Regions from separate parts of the Homo sapiens genome. Here regions 1, 2, 3, 4, 5 and 7 are each linked to region 6. The links are contacts of gene promoters, found by promoter capture Hi-C in blood cells and fetal thymus (Javierre and others, 2016). All regions are on one chromosome and are shown on one strand. The core of a region is centred on a gene start or on the middle of the fragment in contact, and the rest is flanking DNA. Distances in the headings are between cores, read along the strand shown.

Region 1 (2,954 bases), core at 30-2,529, 1.4 Mb before region 6:
GTTAGGATGGTTTTACCTAAAAATGCATGCACATATTTTATAAATTTAGCATAAAAATTCATTAAATATATATGAATGTATTAAATATTGCATGTTAAGTATATCATATGTAATATAAATATTACACATTATTATATAGCATAATTATATATAGTACATGTTACATATATGTGAAATATACAAATATATATCATATCATACACTGAGAGCTCTAGTCATTGGGGCCAGCAAGTGTTTAGAGTTGAGCACCGAAGTTCCACTCCTTAGATGCATGATTATGTCTGAAGGAAAAAAGTTTTAATTAAAAAAAAGAAGGCCTATTTTATTTAGTTCTGTGGCATATCAGGGCACAGTCAATATTACTTTAATGTCATGTGACATGAGGGGTAGGAAGCCACTTCCTTTATCCTATCATGTTTTACCACACAGCTCACACACCGGGAGAGCTTAGGGTGGCCACTAACAGACAATTGCTTCGCTTGGAAGGGAAGCAGGAGAGACCAAGAGCTCCATATAAAGCAGGTGCAGTGGGATCACTGCTGGTGGGATCCAGCAGAGCAGCAGTAGGGCAGCAGCTGTGCGAACCTGTGGAAACCACAGATGTCATCTGGACCTATATGGCACCATGAGAGGAAAACTAAAGGACAGGTAGAAACCATCATGGCATGCTACGTGGTGATAGATGCATGGGGAGAAGCTGCCGTGCCCACAGAAGGAGTGTGGAGGGCTGCATGGTCCAGCTGAGCACTGGGGGGCACCTAGTGGAACAGTGTGGATGCCAAGAGAGTAAAGCCCATGAAACTGCCAGAAATACTTGAGAAAACTTTGCCAGAAACTGAAATTTCTGCATGAGATGATGGGCCCCAGAGCTAGGTCATCTGCGTGATTCCTGTGAGGTAATTTATGAAATTACTTAATAGAAATCAATATTTTTATTACTACATCCCTATAGCTTTAGGTAAGGTGAAGCAATCTGAAGTTTACTTTTGTCCTGATGTGACGTTAGAAATCTTCATCACTTTTTGGATAAAGATGTTTCTTTCATTCTTCCATGTACTCATTGGGATATATTTATAGGGGTGCTAGTTGATAATTCATGTAGGGTTTGATACTTGATTGGCTTTTTCTATGTGCACTCAGCCTCAGCATCAGAATCACCCAGTTGCTTATTCCAAATGTGGCCTTATCTGAGACCAGTTGAATCCAAGTGTGAGCTTCCCTTTTTTGCCCCTTTCTCAAGGTTCATTGTCAGGAACACTCAGGTTTGAGAACCACTGCCTACTTTTATTTTTTTTGGTTTTTTTTTTTTTTTTTTCTTTCAGAGTCTCACTCTGTCACCCAGGCTGGAGTGCAGTGGCACGATCTCAGCTCACTGCAACCTTGGCCTCCCGGGATCAAGCGATTCTCTTGCCTTCAGACTCCTGAGTAGCTGGGACTACAGGTGTGCACCACCACACCTGGCTAATCTTTGCATTTTTAGTAGAGACAGGGTTTCACCATCTTGGCCAGGCTGATGTCAAACTCGTGACCTCAGGTGATCCACCTGCCTCGGCCTCCCAAAGTGCTGGGATTATAGGCATGAGCCACCATGCTCAGCACACTGCTTAATTTTCTCAGAAAATAGAAAACTAAACGCCTCGTGAGAGAGTGGTAGACAGGGTGTAAGGCATGTGTTTTTCAAAAAGCAGCGGAGATCTGAAATGTGTTCTGCAGGAAATGGTGGAAGTAATCTTCATGGATACATAAAAACCTTGCTGTGCAGATTGTGTGAACAGCTAAAACTGCTGACCTTAAATGTATGATGATAACAATCCTTGTGATTGTCCATGGAGGGCCATTCTGGCTACTAAGTATTTATTAAAGGTATGATGTGCTTAACATGTGGCAAATGTAAGTACTGATATAAAAGAAGATGCAGAAGAGGGCACAATAAATCAGTGAATGTCTAATTGGGGAGGGAAAACAACATATATGAATGGCATTAACAACAATATAATATTAAGTTGTTAGATAAATTGTGTGATAGTATAGTGCATAAATTCCCAAATAAGAAACTAATTTATAAAAGAGGTAGAATTTGACCAGTTCCTTGAAAATATGGCAGGATTTGAAGGGGCGTATCATTTAAATCGAGAGACGATATCATCATGTGAATACAAATTTTTGTTAAGTTTTTTGAGGGGGGGTGCTCTCATTCTGTCATGAAGGCTGGAGTGCAGTGGCATGATTTCAGCTAAATGCAACCTCTGCCTCCCAGGCTCAGGTGATCCTCCTCCCTCAGCCTCCCAAGTAGCTGAGACCACAGGAGTAAGCCACTACACCTGGCTATTTTTTTGTATTTTTTTTGTAGAGATGAGGTCTTGCTGTGTTGCCCAGGCTGATCTCAAACTCCTAAGCTAAAGCCATCCTCCTGCCTCAGCCTCCTAAGGTGCTGGGATTATAAGCATGAGCTATTGCACCCAACCAATAAAATATTTTTTACCACTTTTTGTGTACAACACCTTACCTACTATGATGTCTAACATGTACAGGAATGAGATATACTTTCCTGGCCCTCAAAAACGTTAAGTCTATTGAGTAAAGGGAAGCCTGATAATGGCTGGATCTTGGAGCACTGAAAAGCCCCAAGGAGGGTTAAAAACTTTTGGAGGTTTCTTGGGAAATAACACTGGGTAATTGAGTAGATGTAACCAAGTCCAGTTTGTTGAGTTGCACACAAAAGATCAAACTTTCACACATATGAGTTCAAGTAAAAAATGGTTTAGTTAGCTTTAAGAATTCAATACAGGGCTATAATTAGGGAGCATGGAAAGAGTAGTCAGTAATCAAAGGAATCCTAATGACAGTGGCTATAAAACTCAAGACACTCGTACCTCTTTCTGGTGTAGGTGCCTGTGTTTGGTTTCAATTTTTTAAATGACTTCTAAATAGATAAGGCTTGCATTGTGCTTAAC
Region 2 (2,700 bases), core at 28-2,527, 1.4 Mb before region 6:
GACCTAGTAGCAGAGCAGAGAAAGAAGGCACACTGGAATCTACTGAGCACCACTAATCTATCCATTACCTCCTCAGACTGCAAAACAGCTTTCACAGACTATTGTCTGCTGTGTCACTTCCAATTTTCAAATCTTTTGCAAGCTTTTCTGTTCACTAACTCTATATTGGTAAGGGACTATATAGGTGAGGGGATTCTGGGAAACGTAGTTCTTAGTTTTACCAAGATAATGTAATAGTGTATCATAGCCTGTTCGTGTAAGAAAATGAACTAAGTAATCTGTAAAATGGGACTCATAACAGGGTATTTGAGAAGATGAAATAACATAATGCATGGAAAGCTTTTAACAAGTCACCTACTGAATATTCAAAAAATGATTTTAATTATTCTATATTAAACAAATAGACAAAAATGGGAAGTAATATGATTAACTTGCTCAAAGTGCATTAAAGCAATAATATGCATATTGCTGTGGCTCCCATGAGAATGTGCATCTCGGACCCCTGACTGCTGAGAGTGTAACTAACCAATGCCTCTAGCTGCTAAGCTCTGGAACTCATTGCCTCAGTTGCTTTAGGACCACAGTTTCTCCTTGGCTCTCAGCCAATGTCTGGGTGTGGCAGTGACACCAAGGCAGGTGTGTTGCTGGGAAACCCAGAAGTCCTTTGTGAGTAGAGATTTTTGGCTTGAGACCTCCCAGATGGCTATGTTGATCTTTTCTTAAAACCGCAGGGCTGCAGGACCCATTTAAAATGATTCCACCAAAATTAACTTCCTTCCTTGCTTCCTTCCTTCTTTCCTTTATTCCTTCCTTTCCTGTTTTTCTTTTTTAACCAAGGTCAGACCAAGCCTTTCCCAGCTCCCACCCCTTTTCTCTCTCTGGCAGTTCCCTTAATAAATTTCTTACATGTTTAATCTGGTACAGCTATTTGCTTCTTGGATGACATGGATGAACACAACTGCGAAAGAAAAATGTTAGCACACTAAGAAAATAAGGTCTAGAACCAAAGAGGGAAAAAAAGGAAAGTTAATAAACAAATAATTAATTTAGAAAAATTGACCTCTATAATTTGATTAGACCAACAAAACTGCCTGGGTGCTAATTCTAGACCTTTTTTTTCACCACATAGAGTTTCAAGATAAGAGTTTCTTTATATAGAGTTTACACTCATAGTTCACATACCCTTCCTTCCCTAACAGAAGCCAGGCTATGTCTGGAAAGTGTACTTAGAATGGGAAAATCCAGTTGTCCTGAGACCACACGGATGAACATCCATGGAAATTTACCTGTTCCATGCCTATGTTCTCACTCACTTCCACTAGTCTTTTGTCTAGAGTGAAGTTATCTCTGAAAGAGTATCTGAGAAAATATAGCAAGTTTTCCAAGTTCCAGGAAATCCGAGTAGGTGAAGATACGCTTCACCTCACTGTATATAATGCAACATTGAATGGACTGACACTTATTCTGGCCCAAAGCATAGTTGATCTAATATTTGAATAAGACTATAAAGGATAAGCTCATCTTCCTTTCTTCCATTGCTTTATCTTCTATTTCAGCTTCCATTGAGATGATCAAGAATATGCTAAGTTAGTACTCTATTGCCTAAAAGAAAATTAGTTCCCAGGAAGACAGTTTAATTTTCAAATGCTTTCACTGGATTCAATATAAGAACCAGAAAGAAATATTGATGCTTTTTCAAAGCCTCTTTTGGAGACCTTGTTCATTATATTAATAATCCTTTACATAAAGATCTAGATGCTAAAATCATCTGTAATTCAGTACCTGATACCTCCCGGATGGCTAGGTTGATCACTCCTTAAAACTGCAGGGTCCATCTAAAATGCTCCCATTCAAATTTCCTTCCTTCATTCCTCCCTCCCTCCCTCCTTCCCTCCCTCCCTTCCTTCCTTCCTTCCCTTTCCTTCATTTCTTCCTTCCCTCTTTTTATTCTTCAACCAAGTTCAAACCAAGCCTTTCCCAGCTACCTCCCCTTTTCTCTCCCTGGCAGAAATGTTTTATACCTCCTTTCATCTAAAAATGGGACTAAGACTTTATTCTGCCATTGCCTTGATGGCCAGGAAACTCAGTGTGAAGGTCAATGCTTAAGAATGATGTTTCCACTTTCCTAGTAATTCTTTTTCTCTTTTCCCTGTATAATTTTTTATTTGTAAAACTTTATTAGTAGTACTTATATTGTTTGTGAGTTTATTTTAGGTAAGCTTAAATAGTTGGATTTTTTAGAGGGGATGGAAATAAGTAGGCTATAAAATTTTAAATAAATTATACATGTACGTATATATCAATGTTTACTATGCCCAAACCATGATTAAAAATCACTGATGAAGTTTTAGAAATAAACAGGCCAGGTGGTGTGGCTCAAGAATGTAATCTCAGGATTTTAAGAGGCTGAGGCGGGTAGATCACTTGAGCCTAGGAATTTGAGGCAGCAGTGAAGTATGATTGTGTCACTGCACTCCAGCCAGGGCAACAAAGCAAGACCCTCATCTCTAAAAAAAAGAACAAAAAAAGAAAGAATACTGAAGGGAGTTGTGAAAAATTTAATAGTTTCAATTCAAGCAAGCATGCGAATTTACATCTCATGCTTTTTATTTAAAGGAATGGATCTTTTTGTTTAACCTGTGTCAGGTAGCAGCACTGGAACACGAAGCTGATTGGTTACAGATCTGGTTCTGTAGTATC
Region 3 (2,802 bases), core at 269-2,768, 1.4 Mb before region 6:
AATGAAAACTTCATGAGGGCAATGACCATGTCTTTCTTGTTAATATATCCTCTGAGCCTAACATAGGAACTGGTATATCCAAAACTTTTTTTTTCTTTACAAAATGCTTTATTTTTTATATCAACCCAACTAAACACTGACACCAGTAATGTATTACCAGTTATTGTACACTTTAATCAAATACACTGAAGAAATATCATTGACTGACAAATAAACTATCATCCTCATTTTTTCTGTACAATGTTTGATAGATTTATATCTAGAGAATGATTTCAACAACGAGTTTTTCAGCCCTTGTAGTCTCCAGTTTCTATTGTTGCCATCCTCATGTCCATGTGCACCTAAGGTTTAGCTCCCACTTATAAGAACATGCAGTATTAGGTTTTCTGTTTCTGCATTAATTTGCTTAGGATAATGACTTCTAGTTGCATCCATTTTGTTGCAAAGGACATGATTTTGTTCTTTTTTGTGGCTGCATGGTATTCCATGGTGTATATGTACCACATTTTCTTTATCCAGTCCACCATTGATGGGCACGTAAGTTGATTCCATGACTTTGCTATTGTAAATAGTGCTGCAGTGAACATGCAAGTGCTTTTGATAAGTGTGTAGTGAATGAATGATTATATGACAGTGATGAGGAAAGCAAGCAGGATGAATATGAGAGGTGGCAGGAGAGATTACAGAAGTGAAGGAATAGATGAGACTAAAGAGTTCAAAGGAAAGAGATGAAGAGAAAGAGAAAAGGAAGAAAAAGAACAAGAAGAGAAAACAGCTGTGTGGGAATAGAGAGGAAACGTCTTTGAAAGAGTTGCCATCACAACAATTTCTTTTTCATTAAGCCAACACCTTCCTCTTTCTAACTGCTTGCCCTGTGGTGGAATAGAATCAGACAGGTGTGTGTGTAAAAATGAGGTGAGAGGGAAAATTCCGGACAGGTTTTATGAAGATTTCTGTTCCAGGAGGCTTTCTACATACTTTACTTGAGGGGATGTGCTCCGTTTACTTATAAATTAATATGGATCCGATTTAATTTTATTATGCCTATTTTCTCTCTGATTCAGGAAATAGCTCCAAGCTTCATTGGTTCTTTTTTTGCTTCAAAAAAGGGACAAGGCTTGAAGCTGATGCTGCCCTCCCAGCTTTTTTGATATCTCAGGAATAAGTGAGACCTAAAGTGTCCCAATTTTAAGTGTCTATTCTACTGTCACATACAGGATCTCAGCATCTGAGCCAGCTGACGGGACTTAGTGAGCAAGTGACAAAGATGGCAGAGAAGGGGGCAGGGAAGAGAGAGGAGGGAGAGGAAGGAAGGGTGGAAGAGGCCCCTTCCTACTTGGCTTCCGGAGCAGAAACCACAGCGTCCACCCTGGAGAAATCTCTCTACTGAGACATAGTACTAAGCAGAAGGGTCCCACCCAAACGAATGATGCAAATGATTTTCCTGTAATACTGTGGACAGCAGCTGTGTTTACCAACCACCCTAAATAGGAGTGCATTACTGTTCTACTCACAAGCAGTGGTACTGAATATCCCACTGCCTGTTGTGGAGACCGGGGAGCACGTGCTAAACCAAGAGCGTCCAAGGCAGCCGTCACCTGTGCAATTCCTCCCTATAAGGGTTGGGGAAGAGTTCATCTTCATTCAGGGAAAATGAGCAGGCAGGATACCCAGATCCTGGGTTTGCTTTTCCTAGGGAGACAGGCTCAGATCTGGAGCCTCACTGGGTTTTTCTCTGCCTAAGAGGGAAAAGATCCTCAGTAAACAATTGATACCTCATCCTGGTAAAAGCATAGATCCATCCTTTTATCAGGGCCTAGCGTAGTCTCTGTGAATCTCAAAGAGATAAAGCTAGAGATTCTCTGCCTGGAGGGTTCTCCTCGCCCTCCCCACCCCCACCCTCACCCCCAGTTCTCTCCTGCTGTATCTTCAGATCTCACCTCAACTATCATGTTCTGAGAAGCTTTCTCTATCCTTCCTGATTATGTCAGACCTTATTTTATTTTTTAATAGTTCTATTATACTTTTGCAGATCCTCCTTTTTTCATTTGTGGCCTTTGTCACATGCAATTTTCTATTTTTTCATTTAATTGTTTGACCAATGCCAGTTTCTCCTACCATGGTCACATCCATGGAGGCACTGTCCTGCTGGTGGGCAGCATTCAGTCTCCATCCTATTGGAGGGCAGCATTCAGTCCCCAGCACCTAGGGCAGAGCCTGACAGTTAGAATAAACTCAGTATTCATTGAAAGAAATGAAGACCAAAGTTTAGAAAAAAAGCATTATAGTATTAAGTGCAATTAAAAGTATTTAAAACTTTAATTAATAAATTTAGATTACTGCCTTTGAGAAATGCCAAAATCTCTCTATTCACTTATAGAGAATATGAATGACTTTTCAGTGAAGGTCACAGGACATGGACTGTATTTCTATCTCTAATAGGAAGGAAGATGGATAGGTGCGTCCTTTGGTTTTTATGACGGTTTTTGGCATTCTTCTGGAAACAAGCTACAGCAAGCTTTCATTCTCTAGGTTAGAGTTGTCAGTTTAGCACTTGGATTATTGCATGTTATTCAAGCCCCAACTGCACACAAAATCCAGAAAGTGCCAGGAAGTGTTTTAATATGATTTTATATAATGACACCATGGCATCATCCATAACATCTAGTAATGCCCTGTGAGGTCTGCCTTTTAAAGTTGCCCTGAATGCCCTTTGGCCCAGGGAAGTGATTTTTCTAGATATTCTATAGGATGTATCTCTACATCTATCTCTACACCTATATAATAACCATTCTTTAATTT
Region 4 (2,702 bases), core at 8-2,507, 1.2 Mb after region 6:
TATGATGGGAAGTGTGAAGATATTTACACCTAATGGTTTTTGAACAGGAGAGCAAATAGGTCCAAAAATGCCTGGCAGCCTCACAGAGAATAGGCTGGAGCCTGGGTACGTAGACTTGTCAAGCTTTATACAAACTCATACAAACTGCTACAACCTGATTAAGAGCCTCTCATCCAGAGTTTTTATTCCTGGTCCTTCGCTGACTGGCACTGTTTTTGTTTTTTTTTTTTAACTGGGGGAGATGACCTCACACAGGATATCATGCTAACCAAATTTTTATGCTGCCAAGTCAGGCCATTTTTTTTAAAAAAATCCATCCACTGTCACTATTTCATAAAATGAAAGACATTTTAATACCAAGAAAAAGCACAAAGGCTAAACTTGAAAGATGAAGGCAGTCCTTTACATTTAATAAATTTAGATTTATGAAAAACTTGCAATCTTGTCCTCATTTTTCTCTATCATCACAGACTTGCCCCAGTCCTGCAGGTGGAGTTTGGAAAAAAAAGCATCCAGATCAGTTTGTCCATCCTAGCTTTACAGAGGAGCAGGTGTAAGCACAGTGAGGATCAAGTTGTGTGCCCACAAAGGGATACTGGGACCAGAGGCCACATCCCTTGACGCCTGCAGGACACAACTCTTTCCACCTCAGAATACCATCGCTCCCACCTCTCATCATTCCTCCATGCAGCCTCATGTCCTGGCCTCTCAGACACCTGTCCTGAATCACTACAGTCCATCGCTGATGCTTGGACATTTGCACATGCTCTCATCCCACCAGGCCTGAATCACCACATCAAAGACACTTTCAAGATTCTCCCTTGCACAGGGTCAGTCTAGTTCAGGCACATCTGTCCTTGATTTGCTGTGCTGTTTTGCATCACTTTTTAACTGTTTTGTGTTAGCTCCTCAAACAGATGATTGATTTCTGAAGGATAGTGACCATGTCTTCTGTTTTATACTTATTTTTGGAGCTGTGATGTTGCTGCTTAAATACCTTGCATAGTTCTGGGAGCATTTTAGGTGATGAATGAATTTACTCACGAAAAACTAACTTATTCCCAGCCCACAAAGGCTTCTTTATATGCCACCCTTCCTCTCCTTAGAGTTTCCTGAAGCAGCCTCCTTGTTTCTGTGGGTTGAGTCTCCCTAGCCTCCAGTCCACGAGACATGGCTACAGTGATCAGTGTTCCTAACCATAAATCAGGAAAGGTTTCTAAGTCTGGCTTATGGAACACCCAGACGGAGATGGAAACCGTCCCAGGAAACACAGTGCTTGTCATGACTGTAATCCTGGTGGACTCCAGCAGCCCCTGCTCAGAAACAGTTCTGTATTTCAAACACACAGTTTCTAGTGGTTTCATACAAAAGGGTATAGTCTGAAAAATGATTACATTTCCCCCATCATGATAGCATCCACAGTCGATAAAGTTCTACCAGAACAACCAAACAAAAAATAATTTTTTTTCGTTTTGATTTGGGGAAAATTAGACCTGTAACAAGTAGAGATAAATATGGATTAGAGATACACACAATTAGAAATTGAATTAGAGCTGATCTTGCATGGCTTTCTTTTTTTTCTTTCTTTTTTTTTTTTTTTTTTTTTGCGACAGGGTCTCACACTGTCACCCAGGCTGGAGTGCAGTGGCATGATCCTGGCTCACTGTAGCCTCTGCCTTCCAGGTTCAAGCAATTCTCATGCCTCAGCCTCCAGAGTAGCTGGGATTACAGGCACATGCCACCATGCCCAGCTAATTTTTTTGTATTTTTAGTAGAGACAGGATTTCACTCTGCTGGGCAGGCTGGTCTGGAACTCCTGGCCTCAAGTGATCTGTCTGCCTTGGCCTCCCAAAGTGCTGGGATGTGAGCCACTATGCCTGACCGATGACCATTTTTAAATTTAACAGATGTAAAGATCTAGTATTAATAAAATTTATAAATTATCCATAAATATTTTAAACAATAATCTATAAATATTTTAAATAATAATCCATAAATATTTTTTGACAATAGTCCATAAATATGTTTTAACAATGCCTGTTTAACATCTTACAGCTGAGTTTCTGGGGTATTTCTGAAGGGATGGTTTGTGTTGGTTGAATGCAGAACAGCCACAGAGAGGAGTTTTACTGCAGTACTTTTTCTACATTTGGGATAAACTGACCTAAGGTAATTTGGCCATCAGAGATAGGTAAGGGCTCTAGGTTTCCTCCTCTGCAACTTCCCTACCAAGAGTTAAATTACCATGAATCCAAGTTCACTGATGGAATTCTGCCATAAACCCACACATGTATTAGCAAACAGGCTTAGTTAACCAGTCTGTTCTTATAAGCTCAAGGAAGTCCTAGCTCACTGTCCTTTTAGGCCTGTGTTCTAGAGGCAGGACTCAACTAAGCTTCTAGTCACCTTCAGGCTTTGGAGTCCTGCATTCAGCTAGAGAACCTAGAAGAACGCTACTCCAAAGGGTAAGTCAGCTGCTGGATTCAGTGCAATCTCATGTCTTGGGTATAGAAGCAGAGAAGGCACCTGTACGTTATTTCTTGTCGATCCACATACCTGAGGCATCTTTCATGTCACCAGTGAAAAATTATTTCTCATATCCCTTATGCTAATTAGCATACCCTGGAGTGCCCATCAGAGAAGACGGTAGATGAACCCTCTAAAAAGAGGTGGTCACCTCATTACGGATTTTTAAGTGCTTA
Region 5 (2,700 bases), core at 62-2,561, 1.1 Mb after region 6:
GAAGAGAATACAAATGGCGGGATTAGGTGAAGAGAAATGCTGTCAAAATCAACAACTAGCAGCTGCTCTGGAAGAAAACCAGAAGACGTGTGTGACCCAAATATTCATTTCCCAACTCAAAAATATTTCCTATAAGCAAATCACACACGAGGTGTTATTCCCAGAGGAGTGTGGGGACTTTCTCTGATTTAGGACTCAGAACTGATACACAAATGCCAGTACAAACTACACAGTAACTATATACATATCAGAAATATAACCCACTTAGAAAAACACCCAGGACTTACACAGATTTTTGAGACTTCTGTACTTAATAACTAGCTATACAATTATTTTCTTTTACAAAAGAAAAGAATGTGTTGCTTACCAAGACAACCTGCTTGTCTGTTCCATTTGGCAGTCTGTAAGAAATTCAAGCACTTCCTTGAATTTATTTCACTGTTAACCACATTTGGTGTTGAAAACAAAACAAAACAAAAAGGCTGTTTTATGCCACCTACCGAATTCCACTGGAATTACATTACATAGTTAAGAATAAACTTATTTTCTCTTATTCATATGTAGCATAGTCTGTGGGTTACCTGATAGGCCTGTATTAAAATAGAATCACGTTTCTATGGTTCCAAATTTCACTACAGTCAGTTTACTATTGTCTACACTGATGAAGTAAATGAGGTAATGTTAATAATCCACAGATCATAATTGGCTGAATTCAAAATGCTTACCGTGGTGGCTATGCTTGGCAGAAGTGTGCGTCTGGGTGTGTTTCGGCTGCTTTGTTTTTCCTCTTGCCTTTTCATCCATCCACTATTAAAAGTGGAAAGAGGGAGGGGTCGAGATTAAAGTTTTGCTGAAGCACACTCGTAAAGAGGGAAGATCATTCATGTGCTGGTTACAGGATGGATGTTAATCACGTCTTTTTTGACAAGTTGATTTTCAGAGAAAATTTGGTGCTGAATTTTTTTCCACTGATCTTTTCAAGCTTTCTTCAAAACATATTTTTGTAAACCCTAAGTGAAAAATATGCTAAGAAGAAAAGAGATTCTTAGCGTGTTTTTCACATAGGGTTTATAAAAATCCTGGGGTTTGTTGACAGCATGTTCAAGGAAGACATTCTGATAGCTCTACTCTTGCCTTTTCCAGTAATGACAACAACAAAATAACAACACAATAAATGGGCAAATAAAGCTATGGGATTCCAGCTGACTGCCTCTGAAGTTGATCTCAGCCTGCATGGTGTCCAGTCAAAACCGGATGTGGGGATGACAAAACTGCCTCCCTTCCTTCCCTCCACGGTTCTCTCCCGTAATCAGCTTTTCTACCACACAGCGAGCAAGGCCAACTTCCCTAAACTAAGAATGCTGAGATTCTTTTCGACTTATAATGTTCTGACTGTCTCTCTCTGTTTCCCCTTACCTCAGAATTTGTTTAATAGAGGAAATATGTTATGTCTACAGATATTTTCTGAAACTGAAAGAATGAAACCACCCACCTGCCATTTCCTCCCTGAGACCCATAACTGGACAGGAGGGAGGTGTCTTTGACTAAGAATTTAGTTCCTGGCTCCCAAAGGCATTGACTTTGTGAATCCAGGCTGAGGGAGCAATGCCCAGGGGAGGGAAGTGGGCAGGGCAGTAAGGGAAGCTTCTCAGCACTCTGAATTCCTGTTTTTCCCCACAGACTCATCCCCACTACTCCCAGTTGTGTACATGATTACAAGTGTGTGTGTCTCTGCCCACCCCTAGCCCATACCTGGGCATTTCTTTTTGGATTCAGGGCAGTAAAAATATGCTGTCAATTAGATGTAATCTGTAGTTAGTTGTGTTTTTTTTTAACAAAACCTTATTGATATATAATTCACAAACCATAAAAAATTTCACCTTCCATAAAAAATTTCACAAACGATAAAAAATACACCCGTTTAAAGTGTATAATTCAGGCCGGGCATGGTAGCTCATGCCTACAATCCCAACACTTTGGGAGGCTGAGGCAGGCAGATCACCTGAGGTCAGGAGTTTGAGACCAGCCTAGTAGAGAAGGCGAAACCCCGTCTCTACTAAAAATAAAAAAAATTAGCCGGACGTGGTGGCACATGCCTGTGATCTCAGCTACTTAGGAGGCTGAGGCAGGAGAATCGCCTGAACCCAAGAGGCGGAGGTTGCAGTGAGCCAAGATCACACCACTGCACTCTAGCCTGGGTGACAGAGCAAGACTCTATCTCAAAAAATAAATAAATAAATAAATAAATAAATAAATAAATAAATAAATAAAATAAAGTGTCTAATTCGGAGGCACCTACCTGCCTCTTTTTCCCCCTGCTGTCCAGTGGGTCACCACAGAACAAACACACACTTGTAATCATGTACACCCATCAATCAACAAACACACACTTCCCCTCTACCTCTACACCTCTACCTCTACCTACCTCTACCCCTACCCCTACCCCTACCCCTACCCCTACCCCTACCTCTACCTCTACCTCCACGGTCTCCCTCTGATGCCGAGCCGAAGCTGGACTGTACTGCTGCCATCTCGGCTCACTGCAACCTCCCTGCCTGATTCTCTGCCTCAGCCTGCGGAGTGCCTGCCATTGCAGGCGCACGCCGCCACGCCTGACTGGTTTTTGTATTTTTTTGGTGGAGACGGGGTTTCGCTGTGTTGGCTGGGCTGGTTTCCAGCTCCTAACCGCGAGTGATCCGC
Region 6 (2,940 bases), core at 228-2,727:
GCCGAGGTTGTGCCACTGCACTCCAGTCTGGGTGACAAAATGAGCCCCTGTATCAAAATAAGGAAAAGAAAAAAAAAATTGTCCCATCCAGTAAAACATGTCACTAGCTGCCATTTCCCCAGGTGGATGGCTAACGGAAATACGGGCCTGCTAAAAAGACTCAGGAGACAATATTATCCATCTCCTTCCCTTCCAACCTGCTCTGGTTTCTATGAAAAAGTGAAGGCCAAACTGCTAAGTCAGTGTAAAAGTTGTAAGCGACTGAAATGTTCTCAGGAGGAAGAGTTTATGGATGTTTATGGAGGAGACAGTCACTGTTGAAAGGCTTCCAGTTGCTTATTATTTGGGCCTGAGGAGGAACCACCGCTGAAATCAAGCTTGGAAGAGCTTGCTGACGTCAGATTCCCAGCTGTAGTAACCCCAAATGGCCAAGTAAGTATGTTTTTTTTTTAACTGCAGCTGTTAGGTGGCAATTAAGAGGGGAAGCGGTGGTAAGGAATCCCTAGTGTCTGTAATTATAAAAGCAAGGATGTGACATAGGACTTCCATAAAACTTACACCTCCTCTTAAGATTGATTTCAATTAAAAACTGCTTCATCGTTGGTGACACTTTAGCATCTCTGTTGGTGGCTTCCTGCCCTGACCACACAAGGTTCCTTTCGTGACGACAGGAATCAACAAAAAGAAGAAAAAAATGTAAGTTTACCAACGCGCCTTCCCTTTTTCCGAGCCTGATTTATACAGGATATATGGGAAGAAATGTGGACTCCTTGACCTGTTACAAGAATCCATCAACCACCCAAATAAATGGAAACGTGGAAAGAGATTCAAAGTCCTCCAGGTTTTAGGATATTTTAAGGTATTTAAAAGGGAGAAGGAGGCGCCGACAGCGCACCCGGTGCTCTGTGTCACGATCTTCCGCTCGCGGCGCCTTTGAGGACAAGGGCGGCGGGAAACGGGTCCGCGGGGTTCCGAGGCGAGCGGCCGTGGAGGAAGCGCCCCCGAAGAAGGCCTGGTCCCTACGCCCCGCACTGCCCAGCGCTGGGGAACACAGATCCTCGGAGGAGGCCCCAGGGAGGGAAGGCGGGAGCGGGGCCCGCGGGAGGGGAGGGACGGGAGCCGTTGCCACGCACCGCGCCCTGCCCGGACCGCCGCGGGACAGCCAGTTGTTCAGTGCCGGGATCCCGCGGCTGTGCCAGAAAGCAGGACGCCGCGGGGCTGCCGTCCCGACCCCTCGCTTCCTTCCGCGCTCCCGGGACCGGGCTCAGCACCCGGCGCCCCGGCTACGACCGGACACTCACCCGGAGCCACCAGCGGCGAACTCACGGCGCCTCCCACGAAGACAGCAGCGGCTAGGACGGCGGACCCCGGGAGTGCCCGCGGAGCCATCGCCGCGTCGCTTCGCCCTCCTCCCCCAGGGCGCCGCGTCCCGCGCTCGGGAAGGCAGAGCCGCTCCGGAGCCGGCGGGCTGATCGAGTGGCTGGGCTGGGCCCCAGGGAGCGGCGAACCCCGCCCCGCCATTGCCCCGCCCCACGCCACACCCACCTCGGCTCGGTCCCGCCTCTCCCCGCGCGCCCCGGGCTCCACCTAAGCCGGCACGAGGTCCACTCATGGCTCCGCCCCCGACTCCCCGCCCACCTCAGCCTGATCCCGCCTCTCCCTGCCATTCCCGCTTCCTTTCCAAACCCCGCAGCAGCCTCAGCGGCGTAGCTAGGCCATGGACACGCCCTCTTTCTCCACCCACCTCAGCTTGGCCCCGCCTCTCCCTACCGAGCCCCGGACTCCACCTAAGAAGGCACGTGGCCCATCCATGGCCCCGCCCTTTTCCCCACCCACAGCTCAGCCCGACCCCTCCTCTCCCGCTTCCTTTCCAAACCCAGCAGCAGCCTTGGCGGCGCAGTTAGGCTATAGCCCCGCCCTTGCGCCCTGCCCACCGTGGCCCGGCCGTGCCTCTACTTGCCAGGCCCGCTTCCTTTCCAAGCCGGGCCGGGATTACGCGGGAGCCCGGGGCGGGGGGAGGGTCGCCCGGGTGCAACCTCCCTCGGTCGCTGGGACTAGGCGGGCGTGGGAAGAGAAAGAGGGAGCGCGCCCCGAGAAGCACTGGACAGTCAGAAGCGGCCAGCACTGGAGTGAGCACAGGCTTTTTTCGCTGTTGGCATGTCTATCCACTAGCATTCCCCTCGGTTGCAGATCTAGGGAGTGATGCTGTGCTGGATGTCACGTTCTGTTGTTTGGAAATTAGCAGAAAAGATAACTTAAATTTCTTCCTCTGTTTGTTTGCATTTAAGCTGCTCCTATTGGGGAAAATACCTCTATGCATTTTCAGGAACAACTTGCCTTTTTTTTTTAATCGTGTGCTTGTATTGCACCTTGCGCATACTCCCGCAAAGTAGGTCTTTCAATGCCCAGACGCTTATTATCTCCTCACATCCTCACATCAGCTCTGCGAGGTGACTATTAGAGGCCAGGGAGTAAACCCACGATGTCTGGGCCACCATGATAAATTGTAATTATCTCATTGTCATTGTGTTTGCTCGCTGCTGTGCCCTCAGCGCCTGGATGGAGGACAGACAGCACACGCTAAGAGGTCAGAAGTGTTTTCTGAAGTTGAATCATCTTCACAAGCATTAATAGGACTCAGAGGCTCTCTCTGAATAGTTCCTTTTTACTGCCCTGTAGAGACTGTTGTTACTGGGCCATCAAGCATTTGCTTGAAGGAAATTAGGGCAGGACTTGAGCAAATACTCAACACCAGCAAGAAGAGGGGGTGCATGGAGGCTGTGGGTTTTCACAGGATGGGTCTCATCCTTGAGGTGACTGATAACCTCTAGTTTTCAGAGGACTATTTATTCTCTCACCGAGTCCTCCACGCAGTCTGCTGGACTATTATTACAAACATTGCATTGATGTGGGAATTGCCAGTGACAGAAGCTCAGGCCA
Region 7 (2,752 bases), core at 222-2,721, 1.7 Mb after region 6:
TAAATTAATATATAAACCATTAAACTAAAATATTACCACGTTCTTCATCTTCAAGACTCCAAGTCTCAAGCTTCCAAAATACCACAGTGCTTTGGCCTCCAAAATGTAATGATGATCATTATAGGGAAGTAGTATAACATGGTGGTCAGAAACACCAAGATTCTAATTCTAGTTCAACCACCTACTAGTTATATGATACACTGTTTAAATTCCAAAAAGGTGCTTGCACCATCTGTAAAACTGCATCGATGTGGGTTGAAATGAAAAAAAAAAAAAAAAAAAAAAACCATGGAAAACCAACAGTTCACATATTGACCTAAAGAAGATGCTTGGTACAAGGTAGCTACTATCATTACTGTTGCCCTTTTTTGAGAAGAAACACAAAGGCCTGCAACGTTTCCCAGTGTGGCATAAAATTTTCACCGCCCCCCCCCAGAATGTTGTCACTGTGACACGTTGACCAATGATTGAAAAAAATTATATCGGATTGTTAAGTATCTTCTAGCTTAATGAACATTTTAAATGGTCCTTTAAAAATATTTCAAACACAGAGCCATATCCATTGCCATACCATCAGGAATGTCTGCTTTGCTGGCTGCATAATCATTTCACTTTCAATTTGTTTGAACATTTTATCCAGAATTATGCAGTGAGGCTTGGGTTTTTTTCAGATTTTAAACATCAGGTGGTAAGAGGATGACAGCTGTCAAATGTCTTGCATCTGTTTCTATTCGCTGTACTTCTTTTTCCTAGTAAGCCATGTTATCCTTTTGACTCCTATGAACTCATCTAAACAAAATAAAATATCCTCTCCATGCCCTCGGTCTCAACACCGCTCAGGTGATCGTTAATGACGAGCGGAGATGAGACGAGCTGAGCTGTTAATGATAAAAGTTTAAGGCCCTACACAACATATTCCCTAAGAAAGAAAAGTTTGTTACATTCTTCTCCCTCGTGACCCAAAGCTTGAAATCCACGCTTTAGGCAGTACTCAAACTGAGGTTCGGGCAACGCCGAACAAGAAAATAACTTTACCAATGCGTCCCAAAACCACCATCCTTCCTCTCTTCCTTTCTCCCTTCCCCCAAGAGTGGGGGGCGGGGGGAAAGTGCAAGTACACGTAGCAACAAAATCCCTGCGCGCTGGCTGCCGCCCAGAGCCAGAGCCCGCGATGCAATGAAAGTTTTGCGTCCAGTGCCCGGTGTGCGGCCCCTTCTCTGCCTTTGCTAGCCTCCGGAACCACCCACCGCCATCCTCCCCCACCCTGCATACCAGGAGTGCCCGGTCCACACCAGGCCTGCAAAGCCCCCCCAGACCCCGAGCCGCACGGCCTCCCCCAGCGGCTCACCATCGCAGCCCCAGGATGAAGGCGCTGGCTGGCTGGCGGGTGGGCCGGTTGAGGAATCTGTTATCGAGGCTCAGGATCCATTCGCGCCAACAACTTCTCCCGCGAAGTGCAAGAAGGCGAAGACAGTGGCGCGCGGTGATGACGTCAGGAGGCGCGAGCTTTGCTTCCGTCCCGCCCAGAGGCGGGAGGTGCGACGCCTGCCCAGGTGCTGCCCCGAGGGCAGGCGGGCCGCTGACATCGAGAGGAACCACGGTGCTTTGGTGTGAGCTCGGTTTTTGGCGGGGGCGCTAAAGTAGGGGGATCCGATATTGGTTTCCTTGGCAGGCGGGGTACCCAAGTACCTCCCGGTTACACGTCTGGACAATGCACTTCCCTATAGTAACTTTGAAAAGTTTTTACTACCAACTTTAGTAAGATAAATGTTTTAGCTGTGCGTTTTACATATTATGTATAAATATCTATTCTGTAATAAGGTTTCATCAAGAGGCCGGACGCGGTGGCTCACCCCTCTAATCCCAGCACTTTGGGAGGCCGAGGCGGGTGGGTCACCTGAGGTCAGGAGTTCGAGACCACCTGACCAATGTGGTGAAACCCCGTCTCTACTAAAAATACAAAAATTAGCCAGGGGGTGGTGACGTGTGCCTGTAGTCCCAGCTACTCGGGAGACTGAGACAGGAGAATTGCTTGAACCCAGGAGGCAGTGGTGCAGTGAGCCGAGATCGAGCTACTGCCCTTTAGCCTGGGCGACAGAGCGAAACTCCGCCTCAAAAAAAAGAAAAGATACCGAAAGCTTTGGGGTAAACCAGTTGTATATGAATAGATTAGCAATTGAATCACGGAATACAATGAAACATTTGCGTACGATTTCAAGAGAAAGATTAGACCATAAAGAGTTCAATGGAGAAAGCAGTATCTCCAGCTTTGGCTCTAGCTACACTTTTGAAATTCTCACCCATCCACCCCCTGTTGGGTCTTGCGCTTTATGACACCAACATTTCTATGGCGAAAGATAGAACAGCCTGGAATACAACAGAGGCTGAGCATTGACAGCTTGTATTTATTAAACGCCTATTGTTGTACGTGCAGCTCTGGACTAGCCTAGCTCATTTTATCCCCATGATGACACTGACTACTCTTATCCCGAATTTACAGACAGACTGTTACTTATTAACAGGGCCTCACTGCACTGTTCCCTCTGAAGCCAGGATGCTAGGTCTCCAGCCCCACCACCTGCTATTTATGTGACCAAGGGCAAGTTACTGTGCCTCGGTTTTGTCTTAGCAGACATATCACACAAATTTTTGCCCATAATTTTAGAGGACCTACACCAATTTATAATGTTCATTGTGTTATAAATCAATAAATGAGTAAATAAGACATAAAAAGTTGTACGTGTCTTTTATA

Evidence for each region. Contacts are between HindIII fragments. The CHiCAGO score rates a contact against its expected background, and 5 or more counts as called.
Region 1: a contact is called between a fragment that was not itself captured here and the fragment with the promoter of RELL1 in region 6, in 2 of 17 cell types (M2 macrophages and M0 macrophages). The highest score is 6.5, in M2 macrophages.
Region 2: a fragment that was not itself captured here is called in contact with the fragment with the promoter of RELL1 in region 6 in 2 of 17 cell types (M1 macrophages and M0 macrophages); the score reaches 6.7 in M1 macrophages.
Region 3: a contact is called between a fragment that was not itself captured here and the fragment with the promoter of RELL1 in region 6, in 1 of 17 cell types (M0 macrophages). The highest score is 8.7, in M0 macrophages.
Region 4: a contact is called between a fragment that was not itself captured here and the fragment with the promoter of RELL1 in region 6, in 1 of 17 cell types (neutrophils). The highest score is 6.1, in neutrophils.
Region 5: a fragment that was not itself captured here is called in contact with the fragment with the promoter of RELL1 in region 6 in 1 of 17 cell types (total CD8 T cells); the score reaches 7.8 in total CD8 T cells.
Region 7: the fragment with the promoter of RFC1 here is called in contact with the fragment with the promoter of RELL1 in region 6 in 2 of 17 cell types (naive CD4 T cells and total CD8 T cells); the score reaches 5.5 in naive CD4 T cells.

What each region holds. Positions count from the first base shown.
Region 1 is chr4:36,333,062-36,336,015 of GRCh38, forward strand. The region is part of intron 8 of DTHD1 (death domain containing 1); the gene reads left to right. Among named protein-coding and RNA genes, the nearest start is that of DTHD1, 53 kb to the left of the region's middle. The HindIII fragment of the contact is 7,023 bases long and covers 1-2,954 here.
Region 2 is chr4:36,264,687-36,267,386 of GRCh38, forward strand. The region is part of intron 3 of LOC439933 (a long non-coding RNA gene); the gene reads left to right. Among named protein-coding and RNA genes, the nearest start is that of DTHD1, 16 kb to the right of the region's middle. The HindIII fragment of the contact is 1,880 bases long and covers 338-2,217 here.
Region 3 is chr4:36,309,575-36,312,376 of GRCh38, forward strand. The region is part of intron 7 of DTHD1 (death domain containing 1); the gene reads left to right. Among named protein-coding and RNA genes, the nearest start is that of DTHD1, 29 kb to the left of the region's middle. The HindIII fragment of the contact is 885 bases long and covers 1,077-1,961 here.
Region 4 is chr4:38,869,502-38,872,203 of GRCh38, forward strand. The region is part of intron 2 of FAM114A1 (family with sequence similarity 114 member A1); the gene reads left to right. Among named protein-coding and RNA genes, the nearest start is that of MIR574, 2.8 kb to the left of the region's middle. The HindIII fragment of the contact is 2,272 bases long and covers 122-2,393 here.
Region 5 is chr4:38,804,387-38,807,086 of GRCh38, forward strand. TLR1 (toll like receptor 1) reads right to left here and starts at 405. Exons shown (of 4, transcript NM_003263.4): 1 at 368-405. RefSeq lists enhancers at 1-60, 1-96, 4-173, 108-277, 1,236-1,405. The HindIII fragment of the contact is 662 bases long and covers 981-1,642 here.
Region 6 is chr4:37,684,899-37,687,838 of GRCh38, forward strand. RELL1 (RELT like 1) reads right to left here and starts at 1,478. Exons shown (of 7, transcript NM_001085400.2): 1 at 1,302-1,478. The coding sequence starts at 1,389. RefSeq lists silencers at 1,017-1,686, 1,867-2,176. The HindIII fragment of the contact is 3,799 bases long and covers 376-2,940 here.
Region 7 is chr4:39,364,891-39,367,642 of GRCh38, forward strand. It overlaps RFC1 (replication factor C subunit 1), which reads right to left and starts at 1,472. Exons shown (of 25, transcript NM_002913.5): 1 at 1,349-1,472. The coding sequence starts at 1,351. RefSeq lists an enhancer at 1,394-1,513. The HindIII fragment of the contact is 1,173 bases long and covers 964-2,136 here.